Linked DNA regions of Homo sapiens: regions 1, 2 and 3 are each linked to region 4. Evidence: promoter capture Hi-C in 16 types of primary human blood cells and fetal thymus (Javierre and others, 2016). All regions are on one chromosome and are shown on one strand. Each heading gives the region's core, a stretch centred on a gene start or on the middle of the fragment in contact. The rest is flanking DNA. Distances are from core to core; before and after follow the strand shown.

What was found. Contacts are between HindIII fragments. The CHiCAGO score rates a contact against its expected background, and 5 or more counts as called.
Region 1: a fragment that was not itself captured here is called in contact with the fragment with the promoter of H2AZ2 in region 4 in 12 of 17 cell types (total CD8 T cells, monocytes, naive CD4 T cells and 9 more); the score reaches 11.2 in total CD8 T cells.
Region 2: a fragment that was not itself captured here is called in contact with the fragment with the promoter of H2AZ2 in region 4 in 6 of 17 cell types (total CD8 T cells, naive CD4 T cells, naive CD8 T cells and 3 more); the score reaches 7.6 in total CD8 T cells.
Region 3: a contact is called between a fragment that was not itself captured here and the fragment with the promoter of H2AZ2 in region 4, in 1 of 17 cell types (naive CD8 T cells). The highest score is 6.6, in naive CD8 T cells.

The regions. Positions count from the first base shown.
Region 1 is chr7:44,627,573-44,632,062 of GRCh38, reverse strand. The region is part of intron 2 of OGDH (oxoglutarate dehydrogenase); the gene reads right to left. Among named protein-coding and RNA genes, the nearest start is that of OGDH, 23 kb to the right of the region's middle. RefSeq lists an enhancer at 2,206-2,255. The HindIII fragment of the contact is 3,098 bases long and covers 363-3,460 here.
Region 2 is chr7:44,651,261-44,656,153 of GRCh38, reverse strand. All of the region lies in intron 4 of OGDH (oxoglutarate dehydrogenase), which reads right to left. Among named protein-coding and RNA genes, the nearest start is that of OGDH, 47 kb to the right of the region's middle. The HindIII fragment of the contact is 7,641 bases long and covers 1-4,893 here.
Region 3 is chr7:45,095,589-45,100,025 of GRCh38, reverse strand. No RefSeq gene overlaps it. Among named protein-coding and RNA genes, the nearest start is that of SNORA5A, 6.7 kb to the left of the region's middle. The HindIII fragment of the contact is 1,811 bases long and covers 541-2,351 here.
Region 4 is chr7:44,845,520-44,849,925 of GRCh38, reverse strand. H2AZ2 (H2A.Z variant histone 2) reads left to right here and starts at 1,839. Exons shown (of 5, transcript NM_012412.5): 1 at 1,839-1,957. The coding sequence starts at 1,955. It overlaps H2AZ2-DT (H2AZ2 divergent transcript), which reads right to left and starts at 1,455. Exons shown (of 2, transcript NR_187581.1): 1 at 1,405-1,455; 2 at 361-467. RefSeq lists silencers at 1,504-1,563, 1,824-2,213 and enhancers at 1,140-1,698, 1,699-2,256. The HindIII fragment of the contact is 6,622 bases long and covers 1-4,406 here.

The sequences.
Region 1 (4,490 bases), core at 662-3,161, 220 kb after region 4:
TAATCCAAATTTTTGGTTTTTTCTTGCTGCGTCTGGCTCCTGGCCCTGAAGCCTGCATCCATCATCCTGCTGAGTGACCGTGAGCCCCTGTTGGGCTCCTTCACAGCACAGCATAATGCACTTCCTTTCAGAAGCTCAGTGGGTTCTATTAGAATTCCAAATGTTTTTATTTATTTATTTTTCTTTTTAAGGGCCGGGAGAGAGAGGAGAGAGAAAGGAAAGAGGGAAGGGGGTGGAGAGGGGGAGAGAGAGAGAGAAAAGAGAGCTAGAATTTTAACTGTTGTTTAAACTTATTTAATCATCCTGCTAGGATAACAGGGCAAGACTGCTTTTCCTCTTGCAGCCGCCACTCAGCACAAGCTTCGAACACAGCTGTCATGAGCTGCAAACTACCACACAAGTGAGGGTGTTGCTTCATGTTTCCTGTTGTTTCAAAGAGGTTATAATTTTATCACCCTAAATAAACCATAAATGCAAACTGCTTAAGAGTGAAATACTGTGCTAAAGTTGGAGAAGGCGCACTCAGTCAGTTTAGCTGATTTAACACAAAAAGCCACAAGTGCTGAGATTGCTCTTAACATGTGAAGTTAAAGATTATCAAGTGGCGGTGGGGGAGGGTGGTAGGAGAGTGAGGGTTGAAAAATTGCCTATTGGGTACAATGTTCATTATCTGGGTGATGGGTACACTAGAAACCCAATTCCCACCATTACTTAACGTACCCATGTTACAAACCCACACATGTACCTCCTGAATCTTCAAAAACAAAAAATCATCAAGGGGTAACTTCAAAGCTCATCGCTGAAACCCCATTTACGTAGACCATGCAGTTTATGTATACAGTCAGCCCTCCGTATCTGTGGGTTCTGCATCCATGGATTCAACCAAACGTGGATTGAAAATAGTTGGTAAAAAACTGCCTGTACTGAACATGTACACTTTTTTTTCCTGTTATTATTCTCTAAACCAGGGATCCCCAACCCCCGGGCCACAGACCAGTACTGGTCAGTGGCCTGTTTGGAACTGGGTTGCATAGCAGGAAGTGAGCGGCAAGCGAGCATTACCACCTGAGCTCCACCTCCTGTCACATCAGCGGGGGCATTAGATTCTCATGGGAGAGCCAACTGGATTGTGAGCTGTGCATGCAAGGGATCTAAGTTCACTCCTTATGAGAATCTAACTAATGCCTGATGTGAGGTGGAACAGTTTCACTGCAAAGCCATCCTCCCCTGATCCCTCAGTCCATGGAAAAATTGTCTTCCACGAAACTGGTCCCTGGTGCCAAAGGAGTTGGGGACTGCTGCCACAAACAATGAAGTATAACAACTATCTGCATAGCATTTACCTTGTATTAGGTATTACAAGTAATCTAGAGATGATTTAAAGTATATGGGAGAACGTGCATAGTTTATATTTCATTTTATACAAGGGACATGAGCTTCCTTGGATTTTAGTATCCTCAGTGTGCCCTGGAACCAATCCCCCACAGATACCAAGGAATGACTACATATATTTCTGATAAGTCATTCATAAATCAAACATAAAAGATTAAAATACTCAAAATGCATTCCAACCACCCAACTGGCATTGCCTAAAGTGCCTTGTGAATTATTCCCAGAAATAAATAACTTGAGTGGCACCAAAGTGTTCTGCAGATTTTTCAACACAGCTGTTCCTTGTCACGTGAACATATCAGATCTCCTTATGAGCACATCAGACTTCCATCAGACTTCCACATACCCACTGTGGGAAGCCCCTTCACCGCACATGCAGCGGCTAGGAGGGTAACTTGGAGCAGGGCTCCTGCCATGGGAGGAACCCCAGGCCAGGACACAACCATGGGTACCATAGTCCTATTTTTCAAAGTGAGGCCAAGGCAGTTTCAACACTGCAGAGTGAAAAGGCCCATAACACTGCATAATGGGACAGTTTGTGTATCTGTGCTTTTCCTCCACTTAGTTTCACCCATAGAAAACACCAGTACTGTGTTTCATAAGCACGAAAGGAGGAAGCAGAACGGTGTCGACAGATGAGCAGCGATGCCAGACTCAGCAGCAGGCCAACAGCCTGCACCTGTAATCTGAACGCATAGAGACCCTCCCTCCTGCAGCGACCACATGTACACACTTTAGGAGCTGACACGTGAAAAGTGCAAGAAGAAAAAACCATCAAGAAACAGGCATCAGGCCGGGCATGATGGCTCACGCCCATAATCCCAGAACTTTGGGAGGCCGAGGCGGTCGGATCACCTGAGGTCGGGAGTTCAAGACCAGCCTGGCCAACATGGTGAAACCCCGTCTTTATTAAAAATACAAAAATTAGCCAGGCGTGATGGGGCACGTCTGTAATCCCAGCTAGCTGGGAGACTGAGGTACGAGAATTGCTTGAACCCAGGAAGCGGAAGTTGCAGAGAGCCGAGACTGCGCCACTGCACTCCAGACTTGGTGACAGAGCGAGACTCGTCTCAAAAAAAAAAAAAAAAAAGAAAAGAAAAAGAAAAAGGAAAGAAAAGAAATGGGCATCAGTTAACAAGAACAGGGAGGCAGGCTTTAGGCAGGTGGGCAGGGCAGAGGAAAGCACAGAGCAGAGGAAGAGCCCTGAGGTACAAAGCAAGCTGTGAGAAAGCCAAATGGCCAGGAGGGCCTAGAAGAAAAGCAGGGCCAATGATGGCACCCTCAAGGCAGCTGCTGAAGGCACTGTTGGGAGAAGAACAACAGGCCCCAGCTCCTTCCACTCCCTCAGGACCTAATCCTGGCTCTTCCTCAGCAGGGCCAGAACCTGGCAGATGCATCACAAGGAACTCAACACCATGCTACAGCTGTAGGTGGGCACCTGTCCCTACAAAACAAAATGAGATCAACACCCAGACTCATGGGGGCTTAGCAGTTCTCAATTACCTGTTTGTCTTAAACATTAACAAGGATAACTTAGCTCTGACTGTGTCTTAAAGACATAAATAAAGATGTCATCATTTGATGTGACCTCAAATATGCTGAGACCCTAATGAGGAGGGTTTCATAGGCTGACAGCCCAGGCCACCGCTGAAGGCTCTTAAGAGGGGTCAGTGAGGAGCACAAATGCCAGACTAGAACAGAGACGAAAGTCTAGGACAGGACCAAAGGTAGGAACAAAAGGGAGATGGCAGATGGGCCCACCACAGAGACAGACCCAGGTCAGCTAGTTAACCGGATTCTGTTCTGGGGAGTGGACTTAGGGTAAAAAAGGTACTTGCAGCTCTGATTTGCTAAAATATTTTACCACAAATATAATTTTCACATCAGTTAAGCATTTTAAGAATAGAAGTTTTTTTTAAGAGGCTGGGTGTGGTGGCTCACATCTGTAATCCCAGCACTTTGGGAGGCCAAGCTGGGAGGATTGCTTGAGCCCAGGAGTTCAAGACCAGTCTGGACAACATAAAGAGACTCCATCTCTATTTACATTTTTTTATTTTTTTAAAAAGCTTTCTATTTTATTTTTAATAGAGACAAGGCCTTGCCTTGTCCAGGCTGGTCCCAAACTCCTGGACTCAAGCAATCCTCCTGCCTCAGCCTCCCAAAGTATCAGGATTACAGGCATGGCTCCTACTTACATTAAAAAAAAGTTTTTAATTAAAAAATAAATAAAATTAAAAATAAGGAATACAACGACCAATTATAAAGTGTAAAACCAAATGTAAAAAAAAGTAAAATAAAAATTAAAAAACAAAACAAAACAAAATGTAAAAGGGCAGCTTTAAGAGAAGAGTAAATATTTAAACATGGACTGAGAAAAAATTCTATTAGAGAATTAGCCTGTTAATTTTATTGGGTGTGGTTATGAAAACAATTACTTAACAGTTAGTTACACTGATGCATTTATGCCAGAAATGACACAGGTCTGGAATTTGCCTTAAAATACTCCAGTGTCTACTCTCCTCAAACCCCAAATAAACCAACAAATAAAAAAGTCACTGGGGTAGGGAATAGATTTTTAAGACAGCTGTTGAAGCTGCGTGACCAGTCTCCTCATTAGGCTTATCATCTACTCTTCTCTCTACTGTTATGTATGCTTGGAAACACTATAAAACACAGATTTAAAAATAACAATGGGGCTGGGTGCAGTGGCTCACGCCTGTAATCCCAGCACTTTGGGAGGCTGAGGTGGGCAGACTGATTGAGGTCAGGAGTTTGAGACCAGCCTGGCCAACATGGTGAAACCCCGTCTCTACTAAAAATACAAAAATTAGCCAGGCGTGGTGGCGCGTATCTGTAATCCTGGCTACTCGGGAGGCTGAGGCACGAGAATCACTTGAACCAGGAGGTGGAGGTTGCAGTGAGCTGAGATCACCTCACTGCACTGCAGCCTGGGTGACAGAGTGAGACTCCATCTCAAAAAAATAAATAAAATAAATAAAAATAAAAACAACAATGGGAAAGTAGTGCCAAAGGGCAGGAGAGGAAGATGCTGAGTTTGTTCCTTTTCTGCTATATGAGTTTAGTCCTTGCAGCCCCCC
Region 2 (4,893 bases), core at 1,097-3,596, 190 kb after region 4:
GGGTTACATGGTCAGGGGGTCAATTTTATTAAACATGGAAATGATTCATAGAACAGCTGGAATAAGGTGAATCAGAAGGAGGGGAGGTTAGCACCCTGACGATGGAAAGCCATCAGGCAGCGTCATTTGAGAGCTCCTCATCTCCTTAGCTTCAAGAAGTGGCGGATAACAGCACTTTCCTGGGAAGTCACTACTTTGAGATGAAAATTGAGGAAAAGAAAATGAAAAAGCCTAATTTTTAGAGCAGATATTTCTCAGCACTAGATTCAGGTGGCAGACTACTCTAAACCGTAAGATTTTGAAGAATTCTAAAGAATGGAAGGATTCCTTGATCTCCCATTTCAAGAAGGCAAACTAGGAAAGAAGTGCTTGCTAGCTGAAAACAACCCAAGAGCCACAGCTGCATCTCCACAGCTGTACACTTCCTTCTACCTGTAAACTTTTCATCGGATTTCTACTATACATAACAGCTTTCTGAGCCACTGGTGAAATCAAGGCATTTATTTGGATACACAAAACATGCTCCTGACCCTTACTGTCTGGGCTTGTGGGCCTGGGGGATGGGGTCAGGAAGGTAGGCAGTAACACAGGCACACAGAGAAGCTGATGGTTGAGCACTCAGAGTGCTGTCACTGGGTATGCTCCCTGTACTGGGAGTGCAGAGAAAGGCCAGCAAGTGCTTCCTTTGAAGTCAGACTCAGACCCCAAGAAACAGGCCTGCTTCCTAGGGCTGTGACAGGGGCTAGTCTCCAGTCCTGGGCAAGCCACACTGTCTCCTTCCCCCAGGGAACAACAACCACTGAAGAACTCAGAGCCAAGTGGCTCTTAAGACAACAGAATATCTAAATGTCGATATTTTGCTTAAGGCAAGGATGAAGAATCTTAAATTTTCTCCTTCAATCTTCAAAACCAAGACATGAGACCATGTCAAGATGCCATAAGTGAGGTGTATGTTAGCTACCCTGGAGACTCCAGGTAAGGATCTACACAGGGGAGGGCCTCGAAAGGAACCTTAAATACTCATACCCATTTTTAAAAATCTAAAGGCAATGTGGTAAAATGTTTACATTCTTAGTACTGAGTATGTGAATGCTCTTTTATCTGTACTTTTTTATATTTTTAAAATAAAAGGCAAACAAAAGACACAAACCAAAGAAGAGGAGAGTTAAGAGAACAATAGAAGATATTCTGGTTGTCACAATTTACAGAAAGCACACAGATTTTCCAACACCTGAGTGCTTTGAAGCATTGTAAATTACTTCTTGAAGAGTGCAGGTGCTGTGAGGGAGGAGAGAGGGAGCGGATGGAGATTTGGCCACAGTACTTCCAAGTGAAGCACAGAAGCAGGAATGTGACGCTGGGAACTAGGGGACTCGGTTTACCAGTTTCTGGGTATCTCCAGTCAAAGAATCTTCTCAAATGTCAGATGTCTGCTTGGCCAGCTTCATTCTCCTTGAGGGTGACCATATCGCCCATGGCTTCAACCACCCTGGTTATGTTCTTAGCTTGGCCCCGCCCTCCCGAGTCACTTAGGAAACCTCGTCTCCAGCTCCTCGGTTATCTGTGGCACACAGCACGCTGCACATAGCAATCAATGCTTACTAAATGAACTGCTCTATATCACTCTGAAATTACAAAAGCTAATTAAACGTCAACTCTATTTTTAGCTTATTTTTCTCAGCCATCAAAGGAACAAACCGGAGAGCCCTGGAAGGTCAGGAGGATATGTGGAAACTTTGTCATGACTCGCTGTGCTGTTAATGACAGCAGGTTGTCAGAGAAAGGCAAGAACTAAGTAGTTGACATTTTGCCACATTTTTCAACTTTTAAATTGACTTTTTAACTATTTAACTCACGTTCATTTCCTAAAATGGTATTAGCAATTTGTAAACATCAATGGTAAATGGGAGAGAAGTTTCACACTTTCTTCCCATTTATTTATACAATTGGTTTTTAATTCTCTTTTAATTATGTTTAAATCTCACATTAAAGTACATCTCACGGAGCGTGGTGGCTCATGCCTATAATCCCAGCACTTTGGGAGACCAAAGCAGGTGGATCACTTGAGCTCAGGAGTTTGAGACCAGGCTGGACAACATGGTGAAACACCGTCTCTACTAAAAATACAAAAATTAACCAGGCATAGTGGCACATGCTTGTAATCCCAGTTATGTGGGAGGCTGAAGCAGGAGGATTGCTTGAACCTGGGAGGCAGAGGTTGCAGTGAGCTGAGATCCTGCCACTGCACTCCAGCCTGGGCAACAGAGCGAGACTCCGTCTCAAAAAAAAATAAAATAAAATAAAAATAAAAAAAAACAAATTTAATTAGGCCAGGCACAGTGGCTCACGCCTGTAATCCCAGCACTTTGTGAGGCCTAGGCAGGTGGATTACATGAGGTCAGGAGTTCGAGACCAGCCTGGCCAACATGGTAAAACCCTGTCTCTACTAAAAATACAAAAATTAGCCTGGTGTGGTGGCGCATGCCTGTAGTCTCAGCTACTCAGGAGGCTAAGGCAGGAGAATTGGTTGAATCTGGAAGGAGAGGTTGCAGTGAGTCGAGATCGTGCCACTGCATTCCAGCCTGGGCTACAGAAAGAGACTGTCTCAAAAAACAAAACAACAACAAAAAACCCAGTAAAGTACATCTCAATCATTTTTGTCACTGTGAAAAGTTATACTCAGAATTTATACCGAAACCACAGACAGTGGCATTTTTAAGTGGGAAACTAATTCGAATGCTACACTTGAAAGATAAAATTGGGCCAGGCGCAGTGGCTCACCTCTGTAATCCCAACACTTTGGGAGTCCGAGACGGGCGACTCACTTGAGGCCAGGAGTTCAAGGCCAGCCTGACCAACACAGTGAAACCCCTTCTCTACTAAAAATACAAAAATTAGCCGGGCATGGTGGTGCACATCTGTAATCCTGGCTACTTGAGAGGCTGAGGCACGAGAATCACTTGAACCTGGAGGTGGAGGTTGCAGTGAGCTGACATTGCACCACTGCACTCCAGCCTGGGCGACAGAGTAAGACTCTGTCTCAAAAAACAAAAATAATAATTAAAAAAAACCAAACAACAGCAAGAAAAAACTGAGGGCAAGAATTTCTAATTAAGCAGGAGTTTCTAACTGTTTCTAATTAGGCAAATGAGTGGGCCTCACTGTCTAGACCTTTCCATTGATAATACTCTGGTTCTAGTGTTTTGCAATATACACCCATATCTACCGTGGTACCCCAACTGATGACCCTTCTTCAAGAGCCAGTGGAAAAAGACTCCCTAGGAGCCCTCCTACCAGAAGACGTTGGGCTGCCACTACCTCCCACTCTGACTGGATCCATTCAGGGATATTATAACATGAGGTTGGTGCCTCATTCTCCAGATCTGCAAATTTGCTGTCAAGGAACCTCACTATGGAATGTGAGTGAAGAGAAATGTGTATTTAATACATGTCAGCTGGGCGCGGTGGCTCACTGCTGTAATTCTAGCACTCTGAAAGGCCAAGGCAGGAGGGTTGCTTGAGCCCAGGAGTCTGAGACGAGCCTGGGCAACATAATAAGACCCTGTCTCTATTTTAAAAATAAAATAAAATAAAAAAATAAAGTATCTCATGTTGGAACTCTCAACCCTCTTTCCCCAGGGAAATGAGGTTTATAGTATAGCCTGGCACAAATTAAGATGGGCATCTGGAGATTTACCTGGAAACTGGCCCCTAACTTTAACACTTCATTAAAAAGTTATCTCTGGCCAGGTGCGGTAGCTCACACATGTAATCCCAGCACTTTGGGAGGCTGAGGCGAGGGCATCACCTGAGGTCAGGAGTTCAAGACCAGCCTGGCCAATATGGTGAAACCCGGTCTCTACTAAAAATACAAAAAATTAGCTGGGCATGGTGGTGGGTGCCTGTAATCCCAGCTACTTGGGAGGCTGAGGCAGGAGAATTGCTTGAACCCGGGAGGCGGAGATTGCAGTGAAATGAGGTCGTGCCATTGCACTCCAGCCTGGGCAACAAGAGCGAAACTCCATCTCAAAAAAAAAAAACTTATCTCTGTTCCAGCCATCACCTGGCACAATTACGGAACATAATTCACACATAATTGAGAAACTGTTCTAAAATTAATTTTAAAAATTGTTAATGAAAATAATCACTAGGCTGGGCACGGTGGCTCACTCCTGTAATCCCAGCACTTTGGGAGGCGGAGGCAGGTGGAGTGCTTGAGCTCAGAGGAGTTTGAGAACAGCCTGGGCAACGTGGTGAAACCCTGTCTCTACTTAAATTTTAGAAATTTAATTAGGCTGGGTGTGGTGGCTCATGCCTGTAATCCCAGCACTTTGGGAGGCCAAGGCAGGTGGATCACCTGAGGTCAGGCGTACGAGATCAGCCTGGCAACATGGTGAAACATGGTCCCTACTAAAAATACAAAAATTAGCTGGACATGATGATGGGTGCCTGTAATCCCAGCTACTCAGGAGGTTGAGGCAGGAGAATCACTTGAACCCGGGAGGCGGAGAGTGCAGTGAGCCGAGATGGTGCCATTGCACTCCAGCCTGGGCAAAAGAGCAAAATTCCATCTCAAATAATAATAATAATAAACCACTGGCCCTACCATCTCAACAATATTTTTTACTGTATTCATAACAAGTTCTGTCATGCTACACTTGAAAGATAAAACTGAGGGCAAGAGTGTGTCCATAACATCTGATGGTAAATCCTGACACTCTGGCGCTACTGTGGAGTTCTGTGTCTGTACAGTCTCTCCTAACTGGTAAGAGTCTACTTGTTAATTATCTTTCCTTATTACTTCAGGGACCAGGAGAATTTCTGAGAAGTGAAGACAGGTGCCCTAAGCCAGGATTTCCCAAACTTTTCAAAAATGGTCATAAAAGGTCAACT
Region 3 (4,437 bases), core at 197-2,696, 250 kb before region 4:
CCCAAGAGGGCTGCTTTAGGGACAGACCTGGGTTGTTACCTGCCTGTCTCTCCCAGCTTCTTCCCTCCATGAGTGCTTATTCACATATGCCGGCCTCTTGCGTAGGGGTCTGTATCAGCCCCAGCAGGCAGGTGGAGTCCTAGAATTCTGAACCTCCAGAGCAGAGGAGCTTCCCAGGGAAGCTGATTGGAGATTCAGTGCATGGCTGGGGGTTCTGATGGAGCTGTGGCTACTGAACCACAGCCATCCTGGGAGGCTTTCTCCCATCAGTTGTCTCACACTTAGCTGAGTGAAAGGCACCCTGACAGCATGTGGTGACAGGTGATGTGAGGGCTGGGTGAGCACTTGGGAGGCGCTGGCTCTGGGAGAGGAGAAGATCCCACTTGGCTGACACCACGGCACCAAGAGCCAAACTCCATCGTTGTCTTCACCACCCTGACCAGAGCCTTGTGCTGTCATCTAGGAACTGGCTGCCCAAACAGGACCCTGGCAGCCTCCCTGCTGCTGCGGGGATTACCAGGTGCTGGGAGGCAACAAGCTTTCTACCTTCCAGCCTCTCCTTAGAGACACCTATTGGCAGAACCTGACTAAATAGCAGTCAGGGAACTGGGTTGCCTCCAGCCATACAGAACAGAGAGTAGGACAGTGGGGTGGAGCTGAGATGGAGAGGCCCACAGCCCTCAGCACTGTAGGCTCCCAACCCTAGGCTGTTTCCCCAAAAAGAAAAAGTCTAGTCACTGCTCTGATGCTTGGCCACTCACCCAAGCATTGGGGTAGTTTGTGCTGGCTTCACTGGGCACCATCAGGCACACCCAGCCTGTAGTTTTTGTTTTATATTACCTAAGTCGGCCAGGTGTGGTGGGATCACGCCTGTAATCCCAGCACTTAGGGAGGCTGGGGCGGGCGAATCGCCTGAGGCCAGGAATTCAAGACCAACCTGGCCAACATTGTGAAACCCTGTCTCTACTAAAAATATAAAAATTAGTCGGGCATGATGACAGGCACCTGTAATCCCAGCTACTCAGGAGGCTGAGGCAGGTGAATCACTTGAACCCGGGAGGTGGAGGCTGCAGTGAGTTAAGATTGTGCCACTGCACTCCAGCCTGGGTAACAGAGCAAGACTCTGTCTCAAAAAATATATATGTGTGTGTGTGTGTGTGTATATATATGTACATGTGTATATAAGTATATATGTGTGTATATATGTATATATACACGTATATACACACACACCCCTAAGTCATGATTTTGGAGCAATTGTAAGTGGTGTAGTGCTTAATTTTGGCATTCACACATTGATTGTTAGCATATAGAAATGGGATTGATTTTTATGTGATCTTGCTAAACTTTATGCATTTTTAAAATTCCTTTGGATTTCCTATGTAGATATTTATGTCCTGAAAACAGGAATGTATTTATCCTTTCAAATCAATATGCTTTTTATTTTGTTATTTATGACCACTTCATTAAAATATAATTCACATGCCATACACTTCACCCATTTAAAATGTATAATTAGGCCAGGTGTGGTGGCTCACGTCTGTAATCCCAGCAGTTTGGGAGGCCAAGGCCCTCAGATCTTGAGCCCAGGAGTTCAAGACCACCCTGGGCAACAGGCAAAACCCTGTCTCTATTTTTTAAAATACAAGAATTAGCCGCAGTGGCACGCACCTGTCGTCCCAGCAACCCAGGAGGCTGAGGTAGGAGGATCACTTAAGCCTGGGAAGTCAAGCCTGCAGTGAACCATGATAGCACCACTGCAGTCCAGCCTGGGCGACAGAGTGAGACCCCATCTCGAAAACAAAAATGTATAATTCAGTGGTTTTTAGTCTCTTTGCAGATACATGCAACCATCACCACAATTTGCACATTTTCTAAGCCTCATATACTGATGTGATATTTTGGTGTTTTGTGACTGGCTTCATTTACTTAGCATATTGTTTTCATGTTTCATTCATGTCGCATGTATGAGTATTCATTCCTTTATTTGGCTGAATAATATTCCATTATAGTTTGTGCCACATTTTGTTTATCCATTCATCCATTGATGGACATGTGGATTGTTTCCACCTTCTGGATAATATGAACTGATACAGTTTGGATATTTTGTCCCCTCCAAATCTCATGAAATAGGATCACCAGTGTTGGAGAATGGGGCCTGTTAGGAAGTGTTTGGATCATAGGAACATCTGTCATAAATGGCTTGGTGCCATCCTTGTAATGAGTGAGTTCTTGCTCTATATTAGTTCACTTGAAAGCTGGTTGTTGGGAACTCCTGCCCTATCTGTTCTGCCCTCTCTCGTCATGTGACATGCCTGCTCCTTGTTCACCTTCTGTCATGAGTAAAAGCTTCCTAAGGCCTTCCCAGGAGCCAAGCAGATGTCAGTACCATGCTTGTACAGCCTGCAGAACTGTGAGCCAAATAAACTTCTTTATAAATTACCATCTCAGATATTCTTCTATAGCAATGCAAAATGGACTAATACATGAATAATGCTGCTATAAATATTCCTGTACAAGTTTGAGTATAAATGTATGTTTTCATTTTTCTCTTGGTTATATACCTAGGAGTGGAATTGCTGGGTCTATGGTAACTATGTTTAGTCGTTTAAGGAACTGCTAGACTGTTTTACATTCCCACCAGCAGTGTGTAAGGTTTCAGATCTCTCTACATCCTCAATGACACTTGTAATTTGAGTTTTATTTTAGCCATGTGAGTGCGTATAAAGTGATTTCTCATTGTGGTTTTTGTTATTTCCCTAATAACTAATGGTTTTCAGCATTTTTCATTTACTTATTTGGCCATTTGCATGTCTTTTGGAAGAATATCTTTTTTAAGATTCAGGGAGTGGCCGGGCACGGGGGCTCACACCTGTAATCCCAGCACTTTGGGAGGCCAAGGTGGGCGGGTCATGAGGTCAGGAGATTGAGACCATCCTGGCCAACACAGTGAAACACCATCTCTACTAAAAATACAAAAAAATTGGCCGGGCGTGGTGGCAGGTGCCCGTAGTCCCAACTGCTTGGGAGGCTGAGGCAGGAGAATGGCATGAACCTGGGAGGTGGAGCTTGCAGTGAGCTGAGATCGTGCCACTGCACTCCAGCCTGGGCAACAGAAGCAGACTGTCTCAAAAAAAAAAAAAAAAAAAAAATAGATTTAGGGAGTACACTAGGTGCAGGTTTGTTACATGGGTATACTATATCATGCTGAGGTTTGGGCTTCTAATGAACCCATTACCCACGTAATGAACATAGTACCCAGTGGTAGTTTTTCAACCCTTGTCTCCCACCCTCCCCACATTTGGAGTCTCCAGTGTCTATTATTTCCATCTTTATGTCCATGTGTACCCCTCCATTGTTTAGCTCTCATTTATAAGTGAGAACATGCGATATTTGATTTTCAGTTTCTCAGTTATTTCACAAGATAATGGCCTCTAGCTCCATTCATCTTGCTGCAAAGGTGTGTGTGTATGTGTGTGCACTGGGTAATTTATAAGAAAAGAGGTTTAATTGGCATGGGGTTCTGCAAGCTGTACACGAAGCATAGTGGGATCTGTTTCTGGGGAGGCCTCAGGAGGCTCCCCATCGTGGTAGGAAGGCAAAGGGGGAACAGGCATGTCACATGGTGAAGCAGGAGCAAGAGAGAGAGTGTGTAGAGTGGGGAGATGCCACACACTTTTAAATGACCAAATCTTGGTCGGGCGCGGTGGCTTATGCCTGTAATCCCAGCACTTTGGGAGGCCGAGGCGGGCGGATCACGAGGTCAGGAGATCAAGACCATCCTGGCCAACATGGTGAAACCCCATCTCTACTAAAATACAAAAAAAAAAAAAAATTAGCTGGGCCTAGTGGTGCATGCCTGTAGTCTCAGCTACTCAGGAGCCTGAGGCATGGGAATTGCTCGAATCTGGGAGGCAGAGGTTGCAGTGAGCCAAGGTCACACCACTGCACTCCAGCCTGGCAACAGAGCAAGACTCAGTCTCAAAAAAGACCAAATCTCAGGAGAACTCACTGTCTCAAAGACAGCACCAAACCATGAGGGGTCCGTCCCCATGATCCAAACACCTCCCACCAGGCCCCACCTCCAGCATTGGGGATTACAATTCAACTGAGATTTGGGTGGAGACAGATACCAGACTATATCATGCTGCTACAACAGAATACTGCAAACTGAGTAATTTATAAAGAACAGAACTTGGCCAGGCATGGTGGCTCATGCCTGTAATCCCAGCACTTTGGGAGACCAAGTTGGGCAGATCATGAGGTCAGGAGTTCAAGACCAGCCTGACCAACATGGTGAAACCCTGTCTCTATTAAAAGTACAAAAATTAGCCAGGCATGGTGGCAAGTGCCTGTAATCCCAGCTACTCAGGAGGATGAGGCAGGAGAATCACTTGAACCCAGGAGGTGGAGGTTGCAGTGAGCCAAGATCACGCC
Region 4 (4,406 bases), core at 590-3,089:
GTGGAAACAGGCCAGGCGCGGTGGCTCACGCCTGTAATCCCAGCACTTTAGGAGGCTGAGGCGAGAGGATCACTTGAGGTCAGGAGTTCAAGACCAGCCTGGCCAACATGGTGAAACCCTATTTCTACTAAAAATACAAAAACTAGCGGGGAATGGTGGTGGGAGCCTTTAGTCCCAGCTACCCAGGAGGCTGAGGCAGGAGAATCGCTTGAACTCAGGAGGCGGAGGTTGCAGTGAGCCCAGATCACACCACTGCACTCCATCCAGCCTGGGCAACAGAGTGAGACTTCATCTCAAAAAGTAAATAAATAAATAAATTGTGTTAACACTGTGGAAGAAAAACGATCGCTGGAGAGCCTGTGCACTCACATACATCCTTTAATTTTTACAACAGCTTCCGGGGGAAGGCGATTCCACTTTAGAGCTTTTCTTCCTTTCTAGCTGGGAGTTATCCTCCAAATTTTAACCTAATGATGTAAGCAAAATAAACACACTGAAGAGGTTGAGAAAAGAAAAACGGCTCACAACAGTCTGAGCTCTGTGAGGTCTGCAAAATGTATTAGGCCTAGAGGGACATGAGTATGGGACTTCGGTTATGCCCACCCTCTGCCCCCACATACACACATACCCAATCCCATGCATACCCAATTGTTTAAAGTCATTTCATTCCTGACTATCGGCCTCATCCATTACCTTTTTTTTTATTATTATTTTTTAGACAGGGTATATTCTGTCTCCCAAGCTGGAGTGCAGTGGTGCGATCATGACTCACTGCAGCCTCGACCTCCTGGGCTCAAGAGATCCTCCTGTCTCAGTCTTGACAGTAGGTGAGGCTACAGGTTCGCGCCACCAAGCCGGCCCCATTATCTTCGTGTTCTTAGAATTTGTAATACATGCCGGGCGCGGTGGCTCACGCCTGTAATCCCAGTACTTTGGGAGGCAAAGGGGGGCAGATCACCTGAGGTCAGGAGTTCGAGACCAGCCTGACCAACACGGAGAAACCCCGTCTCTATTAAAAATACAAAAGTTAGCTGGGCATTGGGGCGCGCGCCTGTAGTCCCAGGACTCCATCTCTAAAAAAGGAAAAAGAATTTGTCATACAAATAACAATATGTAGCCAATTGATAGCTTTTGTTTTTGTTTGTTTGTTTTGAGACGATGCGTCGCCCAGCTGGAGTGCAGTGGCGCGATCTCGGCTCACTGCAACCTCCGCCTCCGGGGTTCAAGCGATTCTCCCGCCTCAGCCTGCCGCGGACCTTGTCAGGGTCCGCGCTGAGAGGACGTCAGGGTAGTCAGTCCGCCAGAATACGGCTGAGCATGAGGCCTGCCTAACCTTGAAACCCAGCGCCCTCCTGATCCACACGTTCTAAGACGAATAAATCCTCACAGTCTGTGAAAACCCACCAGGAGAAGCACGTCCAACACTCTTTACCTCCCCAAACAAGTCTCAGAAGCGGGAAAACCAACGCCGCGAATGGGCGGGAAAGCCACAGCGCCTGCAATCGCTTCACCTTATTAGCTAATTTTGCTGTCCTTCCCAGTGGCCCGCCTCCCTTGCTCGCGGGCGATATTTTTATTGGCTTTCGTCTGCGAGGCGTCCAATCTCATTGGTTTGCCTTTCTGTTCGTCAGGCTTGGGCGCCTGGTGAAAGGCAGAGAGCGCGTCACTATTGGGGCTGGAGGCCCCGCCTCCGCGTGCCGTGTGCAAAAACAAACAGCCGTTAGGAAGGCGGTGCCGGGGGGGCGGGGTCTGGCTAGAAGGAGGCGCGCGATTGAACAGCCGCTGGGGTTCGAACCAGCAAGACAAGCGGGCATTGGCCACAGCAGCGCGAGGCGGGCACGGGGTATTGTCCGGCTCCGGCGGCGGCGGTCGGTGCTGCGAGAGCGGCGGCGGCGGCGCGGGTCGGCAGCGGGAGGGCGCGCGGCCGAGCGGAGGCGGAGTCGGCGCCGAGAACATGGTAAGGGCGGCCGGGTGGGCCGGGGGCACGGGGCCTGGGAGAGCAGAGCGCGGAGGCCCTGGCGTCGGCGCCGCTACCTGTGGAGTCGGGAGTTTGCGGGTGTCTGGGCTTCGTCCGGCCGAGCCCCTCGCCGCCCGCCGGGGGGCGCCATGTCCCAGCTGCGGAGCCCGACACGGGTCCCCGGGTGAGAGCTGGGCCTGGCCGGGTAGAGCGCGAAGTCTGTTCCGAGCCGGATAGATCTGTCCCGACGCTTGTGACGCTGCACCGCCCGTCTTAGAAGGAGGAGGACGGCAGAATCCGGCTTGGAAATGTAGAAACAAGTGCTGGATCTTAATGTGATCGCTTCTCTGTATGAATGAGGTCAAACAGGCTGCCGCTGTACAAGTTAGATAAGTCTTTGGCGATGTTTGGTTACGTAATCTCCCTGGCAGTCAGTTTGAGGGTTTCTGCGAAAGGGTGCTTGTATTTGTGGTCTTTTGAGCGACAAAGAATGGTTTTATAGACCAGAACCACACGATTTGTTCTAGGTGATTGCACAGGTTAGAAATGAACGCCCGTTATCTTCTGAGCCCCTTGCAGTTTGCGGTTTTCATTATACAACAGTACTTTCCTTTGCCCTTGCTATGGATTTTCAGTCTTAAAGTATTCATCTTTTCATTCTGAAATTCAGATCTAGATAAGAAGAGTGTGGCTTTAAAAAAATGAAAGTGAATAGAACTTCAGCCCCATTTTAAAGTTGAGGGGAAAAGAGAAGGTGCTAAAGGATACGCTCTGAGTTGCATCAAAGATTGTGTAAAAATAATAAGACTGTTATGGAATCTTATTTTTGCCGGTATTCGTGCTTTAAGCATTCTGTTGAAAGGTTACTTCAACGGGAGCTACCTGCTTAAAAGTTAGCACCAAGCTGTCATTTATCATACTGCAGATAGTATTAGATGATTTGTCTTGTGCTTGATGTGACAGATATGGTATTGAATAGACATAACACCTAACTGTAAACAGATTGGCCAGTCGAGAGGACAATGTTTGGTTATTGTAAAATACCCAAATCTTAGAGCTGGAATAGACTTTAGGGATAATTGCTTCCAACGTCTAACGTATAGTTTATTGTTATTGTAAAAAACCCAAATCTTAGAGCTGGAATAGACTTTAGGGATAATTGCTTCCAACGTCTCACGTATAGTTTATTGTTATTGTAAAGTACTTTATAGTACTTTATCAAACTGAGGTACAGCTTACATCTAATCTGTAAAAGGATTTGCTCAAACAGATGATTTTCATGATTCTAGTTTTTTGTGGTTTTTTTTTTTTTTGGTTTTTTGTTGTTTGTTTTTTGTGGTTTTTTGTGGTTTTTTTTTTTGAGACGGAGTCTCACTCTGTTGCCAGGCTGGAGTGCAATGGGCGATCTTCACTCACTGCAACCTCCGCCTCCCGGGTTCAAGCGATGCTCCTGCCTCAGCCTCCCGAATAGCTACAGGCGTGCGCCACCACGCCCTGCTAATTTTTTGTATTTTTAGTAGAGATTGGGTTTCACCATGTTGGCCAGGATGGTCTCGATCTCTTGACCTTGTGATCCGCCCCCCTCGGCCTGACAAAGTGCTGGGATTACAGGCGTGAGCCACCGCGCACGGCCAATTCTAGTTTTTCAGATATTTTTCAATCTCTAGTGATACGCTATATGTTTTATATCCACTTACCAGTAGCTAAAAATACATAAGTATTAACATAAGCTAAAAATGCAGGAGACATTGAGTTGTCGTTCTTGATAGATTTTAAACCTGAGAGGAAGTAAGCAGATGTCTGTTAAAACTGACATGAAAGTGTCTTAGTATCCAGTTTGCAAGTTTATCCAAGTAAAATGAACGAACTCCTACTTCCTCCTCTCTCTCTCTCTCTGTCTCTCTCTGTGTGTGTGTGTGTGTGTGTGTGTGTGTGTGTGTGTGTAATTTTTTAAAACCAACAACCTTAACTCAGGTTAATACGAAGTCAGTTCTTGGAATTAAAAAATTTAGATTTGGGTTCTCAAGCACCAATTATATTAAAATGAATGTTCAAAGTAGGGAGGCTATATATACAGTTTGAGGGGATATCGGAAAGAAAGTAATTATCCATTTATTGTATAGTTTTATATTCAGATAAGTTTGATACCATAAAAGTTTTCTTTTGTTAAGTATGAGAAATGTATCAGGAATCTCTAAATGTTGGAAATAGTCATTTAATGGATTGAGGCTTTTAAAACCTGACTGTATGTCTACTTCCTTAAAAAGCAAATAGAACACCAAATATGACATATCTGAAACAGTGAGGATAAAATTGCTTAAGCAGAGTAGTTATTATATGACCTGGGGAGCCTGGGGAATTTTGTAGTTGTTGGCTTTTTATTAGTGACTACTTCTTATTTTTTCCAATCCAGTCATAGGAAGACAGTGATTATAATTTTAGATGCCAG